2 separate regions of the Homo sapiens genome follow, and region 2 is linked to region 1. The links are contacts of gene promoters, found by promoter capture Hi-C in human tissues and cell types (Jung and others, 2019). All regions are on one chromosome and are shown on one strand. The core of a region is centred on a gene start or on the middle of the fragment in contact, and the rest is flanking DNA. Distances in the headings are between cores, read along the strand shown.

Region 1 (3,129 bases), core at 531-3,030:
ATGGCCCTAACGCCCAAGCTGGAAGGTTGTGGGTTTACGGGAATGAGGGCAAGGAATACCTGGCCCACCCAGGTTGGAAAACTGCTTAAAGGCATTCTTAAGCCACAAACAAAAGCCTGAGAGATCTGTGTCTTAAGGATGTGTTCCTGCTGCAATTAATTCGGCCCATCCCTTCATTTCCCATAAGGGATACTTTTAGTTAATTTAACATCTATAGAAACAATGCTAATGACTGGTTTGCTGTTAATAAATACGTGGGTAAATCTTTGTTCGGGGATCTCAGCTCTGAAGGCTATAAGACCCCTGATTTCCCACTTCACACCTCTGTGTGTGTCTTTAATTCCTCTAGCACCGCTGGGTTAGGGTCTCCCCAACCGAGCTGGTCTTGGCATACCCTTTTCATTGGTTTTTTGCCTGCTTTATATCCTGGCCACTCCAGCAGCTGATTAGATGGTGCCCACTTGGATTAAGAGTGGACCTGTCTTTCCCAGCCCACTGACTCAAATGTTAATCTCCTTTGGCAACACCCTCACAGACACACCCAGGATCAATACTTTGCATCCTTCAATCCAATCAAGTTGACACTCAGTCTTAACCATCACATACAGCTAAGCAGGAGGCTAAGGCAGGAGGACTGCTCGAGCCAGGAGCTGAAGGCTGCATTGAGCTATGATGGTGCCACTGCACTCCAGCCTGGGCAACAGAGCAAGACCCTGTTCCTGGGGGGGGAAAAAAAAAAAGAAGAGGCTCAGAGGATCTTGGTTGGAGTTTGGTCAAGGAGGGGATGTTTCTCACTGAGTAATTTTAAAACAGTTATTTTGTTTTAGCATTCTGAAATCTGAAATGGGAATATTAGTATCTCCTGTATCTCCTGGGAGCATCAAGTGCAGTACTGAGCAATAGAAATATAATGCAAGCGTCACATGTCATTTACAGTATCTTCATAACCACATTAAATAAAATAATTAAAAATAAACAAGAAACCTTCCTCCCTTCCTTCCTTCTTTCCTCTTGCTCTGTCACCCAGGCTGGATCTCGGCTCACTGCAGTCTCTGCCTCCCGGGTTCAAGTGATTCTCTTCTCTCAGCCTCCTGAGTAGCTGGGATTACAGGAGCCCACCATCACACCCAGCTAATTTTTGTATTTTCAGTAGAGACAGGGTTTTGCCATGTTGGCCAGACTGGTCTCGAACTCTTGACCTTAGGTGATTTGCCCGCCTCGGTTTCCCAAAGTGCTAGAATTACAGGCGTGAGCCACTGCGCCCGGCCTCAAAATATTTTCATTTCAACATGTTATCAACATTTAAAAATTATTGGGAGGCCGAGGAGGGGGGAATCACGAGGTCAGGAGATTGAGACCATCCTGGCTAACACGGTGAAACCCCGTCTCTACTAAAAATACAAAAAATTAGCCGGGCGTGGTGGCGGGCACCTGTAGTCCCAGCTACTTGGGAGGCTGAGGCAGGAGAATGGCGTGAACCCGGGAGTCGGAGCTTGCAGTGAGCCGAGATCGTGCCACTGCACTCCAGTTTGGGCGACAGGGCCAGACTCCATCTCAAAAAAAAAAAAATTATTGGGATATTCTTCATCCTTGTTCCAGTTCCAAGTGTGTGAAATCCGGTGTGTATTTTGCACCTGCAGCACTGGCCACATCAGAGCATTGATTGCACATCACCGGTCTAGACAAGCGGCAGGACTTGCAGTCTTCAGCGAGGGGCGGTTCTTAGCCAGATGGAGGCGGGGCTTCCCGGAGAGTTCGTTTTGGGCCCCATCGGCTTCCGTAGGAAGGCGCCGGCCGTGGAGGCGCCACGTCCCTTGCGGCGGCGGGAGAGAAATCGCTTGGACTTCGGGGCGGCCTCGGACGGCCATGGCCTTTACCCTGTACTCACTGCTGCAGGCAGCCCTGCTCTGCGTCAACGCCATCGCAGTGCTGCACGAGGAGCGATTCCTCAAGAACAGTGAGTGGGACCGCGGGGCGCGGGCTGGGGCGGCGGCGGAGTCCCCGGGGGCGCGTAACCTAATGGGGCCGCGTGAGGGGACACCAAGGGCCGGGACAGAAGAACAGCGGAAGGCTCGGCTTGGAGTGGAAGCCGAGCCTTTCCTCTCATCAGGTTTGGGCTCAACAGCCGGGAGAATATTCAACAGACACCCGCTGTGCAGGGCCCAGGGGGTTGGGGTGGAGGGATATAGAAGTCAGTCAGGGACGCCTCTGCTTGCGATTACTTCAGGTCAGTAATTTAATTCAGTTTTCTGTGACTACTTTTTTTTTTGAGGGGGAGTCTCGCTCTTTTGCCCAGGCTGAAGTGCAGTGTCGCGGTCCTGTGACTACTTTTAATAGTCGAAAACCCGGGGTCTGAGTTTCGGGCTAAGAGTTGGGGGTGTGGGGCCGGGCGCGGTGGCTCCCGCCTGTAATCCCAGCACTTTGGCAGGCCGAGGCCGGCGGATCATGATGTCAGGAGTTTGGGACCAGCCTGGCCAACATGGTAAAACCCCGTCTCTACTAAAAATACAAAGATTAGCCGGACGTGGTGGTGGAAATACAAAAATTAGCCGGGCGGGAGGCTGAGGCAGGAGAATCACTTAAACCTGGGAGGCAGAGGTTGCAGTGAGCCGAGATTGCGCCATTGCACTCCAGCCTGGGCAATAGAGTGAGACTCCGTCTAACAAAACAAAACAAACAAAACAAAACGAGTTGGGTGTGGAGGGGAAGGAGGCGTGACCCATTTTGGAGCATCAGTAGTTCACTAACTGATGGAAGGCAATAAGTGTTCCTGGGCTTTAGGAATTACAGGAAGGGAACGTGTTGGAGTTATCAGGACATTCAGACACTCATGTTCCAAGAAAAGTTTATTCAGATAGCTTATTGGGTGCATAGAGTGTGCCAAAAACTCTGCTAGAATTTAGAAATTCAAAAATGAAAACACAAGTTATACCTTCCAGGACCTCACGTTGTGTACCAAGTATGCCCGTTTGAATCACTGAAACGTAAACCCAGGAGCAAGATTGATTCATTTCATTTACTTCAGAAGATATTTATTGAGTGCAAAGTATGTGCCAGGCCCATTTATAGTAACTGAAGTTACAGCAGCTACTCTGCCCTTCTGATGGAAGTTAATCTAAATAAAAACTA
Region 2 (3,289 bases), core at 494-2,993, 1.1 Mb before region 1:
AATGACAATGATAATAGTAGGCATCTTTATATATTCTGAATGTAGAGGAATTATTGCTAATTTAAATATGGATGCTCTATGCTGTTAACCGGAATTCTTTTTAATTCTAGTTCTGAAATTTTTATTAGGAATGATTGTTGATTTCTATAAAATACCTGTCAAGTATGCACTAAAATTATAAGATGCTTTTCCTGCTTAGCGTCTTGATGTGGTGTAGCATATTAATAGAACCCCTTATATGAGGCAACACTTGCTTGCAACCCTGGGGTAATCCCACTTTGTCATGGTATAATTTTAGTGTATATATCATTGAATACACTGCTATTCTTCTATGACCTATCTGTGCTCATGGTCCGCTCAGTCTAGCCCCCTCTATCCCTGACTTGGTCCTGCCCTGACTGTGGTCCAGAGAGCTGTGGGGCAGAGGCCAGGGTGTGTGTGCATGTGGTGGTTGTTGGGGGCATGGGATGGGGGGTGTCAAAGCACCTGATGATGATTTCGCCAGCATCACAACCTCAAGTACGATATGGTGTCTCATCCTTTTAAGTTTTAGTTTTTAACAGGATATGTTAAAAACTAACATATTTAGTTTAACAGGATATGCCTATAATTTAAAGAATCAGAGAGTTTAATTAAAGTTATTACAGAAAATAGCAGTCCTTTTCCCATCCTACCTCATTTTCCATTTGCGAGAGACAACTACATTTTTTCTTAGAAAAAAAGTGTGTTTTTTTATTTCCATTTTCTTTAAGTAACAGGTGTATACAATTATTTGTCATTTTTCTATTTTAAGCTTTATTATTATTATTATTATTTTATTATTTATTTTTTTTTGAGACAGAGTCTCGCTCTCTTGCCCAGGCTGGAGTGCAGTGGTGTGATCTCAGCTCACTGCAAGCTCCGCCTCCCGGGTCCACGCCATTCTCCTGCCTTAGCCTCCCAAGTAGCTGGGACTACAGGCACCCGCCACCACGCCCGGCTAACGTTTTGTATTTGTGTTAGCCAGGATGATCTCCATCTCCTGACCTTGTGATCCACCCGCCTCAGCCTCCCAAAGTGCTGAGATTACAGGTGTGAGCCACCGCGCCCGGCCTAAGCTTTATTATTAACTGACTTCCTGCTATGGAAGATGACTGTTTAGCTCCCTTTACCCCATATTCACACTAGAAACACACTCCCATATTCCCTCTTTATACCATAATTGTGATTAGATCCAAATTTAGTATTTACAGTATATTATAGTGAAAATGTACTTCAGTTACACCTGAGCTATATGATTCCATTTAGGCACAATTTTTGTTTTCTGGAATTAATAATTGTTTTTGTTTGTATGTCTGATGCTTAGTTTTCTATATATTTATTAATAATTCCATCCCCAACATTCTTTAATTGGATAAATACCTTCCTAATCCTTTCAAATACATCAGGCAATCTGTCAGTTTCATCTCCTTGTTGAAATCTCTCTGGATACTTTGACCATTTTTGTCTGATTGCTTTCTGGAGCACAGCTCTCAACCTGGGCTCAACCGGCTCTAGCATTCTAGGAATTCCCCCATCCTCTCTTCTGTTTGGATGTCCTGTTTCCTGAATCTAAAATTGTTCCTTTCTTGGTTTGCCCCCTTGTTTTGATGGAGCGCATTCTCCAATAACTTTATGAAAAAAAGATGCTTGAGATACTTTCTTCTTCTTTTCCTCTATTCCTTAAAAAATATGTTTTTACTCTTGAGCGTATATACCATAGAAAATTCATTTTTTCTTTTTTTTTTTTTGGTGTCTTGATCTATTTTTTTATTTCAATAGGTTTTTAGGGGAACAAGTGTTGTTTGGTTACATGGATAAGATCTTTAGTGGTGATTTCTGAGATTTTGGTGCACCCATCACCTGAGCAGTGTACACTGTACCCAATGTGTAGTCTTTTATCCCTCACTCCCCTCCCACCCTTCCCAAGTCCCCAGAGTCCATTGTATCATTCTTATGCCTTTGCATCCTCATAGCTTAGCTTCCACTTATAAGTGAGGACATAGAATGTTTTGTTTTCCATTCCTGAGTTACTTCACTTACAATAATGGTCTCCAGCTCCATCCAGGTTGCTGTGAATGCCATTATTGAATTCCTTTTTTTGGCTGAATAGTATTCCATGGTGTGTGTGTGTGTGTGTGTATATATATATACACACACACACACTACTTTTTTTTCCACTTGTTGATTGATGGGCATTTGGGTTGGTTCCGTATTTTTGCAATTGTGAATTGTGCTGCTATAAACATGCATGTAGAAGTGTCTTTTTCATATAATGACTTCTTTTCCTCTGAGTAGATACTCAGTAGCGGGATTGCTGGATCAGATGGTAGATCTACTTTTAGTTTTTTAAGGAATCTCCACACTGTTTTCCATAGTGGTTGTAGTATTAATAGTTTACATTCCCACCAGCAGTGTAAAGATGTTCCTTTTCACCACATCCACATCAACATCTATTATTTTTTGATTTTTTAAATTATGGCCCTTCTTGTAGGAGTAAGGTGGTATTGCATCATAGTTTTGATTTGCATTTCCCTATAATTAGTGATGTTGAGTATTTTTCATGTTTGTTTGCTGTTTGTATATCTTCTTTTGAGAATTATCTATTCATTTCCTTAGCCCACTTTTTGATGGGATTAATTGCTTTTTTCTTGCTGATTTATTTAAATTCCTTGTAGATTCTGGATAGTAGTCCTTTGTTGGATGCATAGTTTGCAAATATTTTCTCCCACTCTGTGGGTTGTCTGTTTACTCTTCTGATTATTTCTTTTGTTGTGCAGATGCTTTTTAGTTTAATTAAGTCCCATCTATATTTATTTATTTATTTATTTGAGATGGAGTCTCACTCTGTCGCCCAGGCTGGAGTGCAGTGGCGCAATCTCTGCTCACTGCAAGCTCCACCTCCTGGGTTCACACCATTCTTCTGCCTCAGCCTCCCGAGTAGCTGGGACTACAGGCACCTGCCACCACACCTGGCTAATTTTTTGTATTTTTAGTAGAGATGGGGTTTCACCATGTTAGCCAGAGTGGTCTCGATCTCCTGACCTCGTGATCCACCCACCTTGGCCTCCTTCTATTTATTCTTGTTTTTGTTGCATTTGTTTTTGGGTTCTTGGTCATGAACTCTGTGCCTAAGCCAATGTCTGGAAGAGTTTTTGTGATGTTATCTTCTAGAATTTTTACAGTTTTGAGTCTTAGATTTAAGTCTTCAATGCATCTTGAGTTGATTTTTGTACAAGCTGAGAGACGAGGATCCAGTTTCATTCTTCTA

What was found. Contacts are between HindIII fragments. The study calls those that stand out against the background at their distance.
Region 2: a fragment that was not itself captured here is called in contact with the fragment with the promoter of IER3IP1 in region 1 in 1 of the 25 tissues and cell types used here (hippocampus).

Annotation. Positions count from the first base shown.
Region 1 is chr18:47,175,015-47,178,143 of GRCh38, reverse strand. IER3IP1 (immediate early response 3 interacting protein 1) reads left to right here and starts at 1,780. Exons shown (of 3, transcript NM_016097.5): 1 at 1,780-1,957. The coding sequence starts at 1,867. RefSeq lists enhancers at 1,612-1,741, 1,752-1,871. The HindIII fragment of the contact is 11,428 bases long and covers 1-3,129 here.
Region 2 is chr18:48,243,975-48,247,263 of GRCh38, reverse strand. The region is part of intron 2 of ZBTB7C (zinc finger and BTB domain containing 7C); the gene reads left to right. Among named protein-coding and RNA genes, the nearest start is that of ZBTB7C-AS2, 6.7 kb to the left of the region's middle. The HindIII fragment of the contact is 4,276 bases long and covers 1-3,289 here.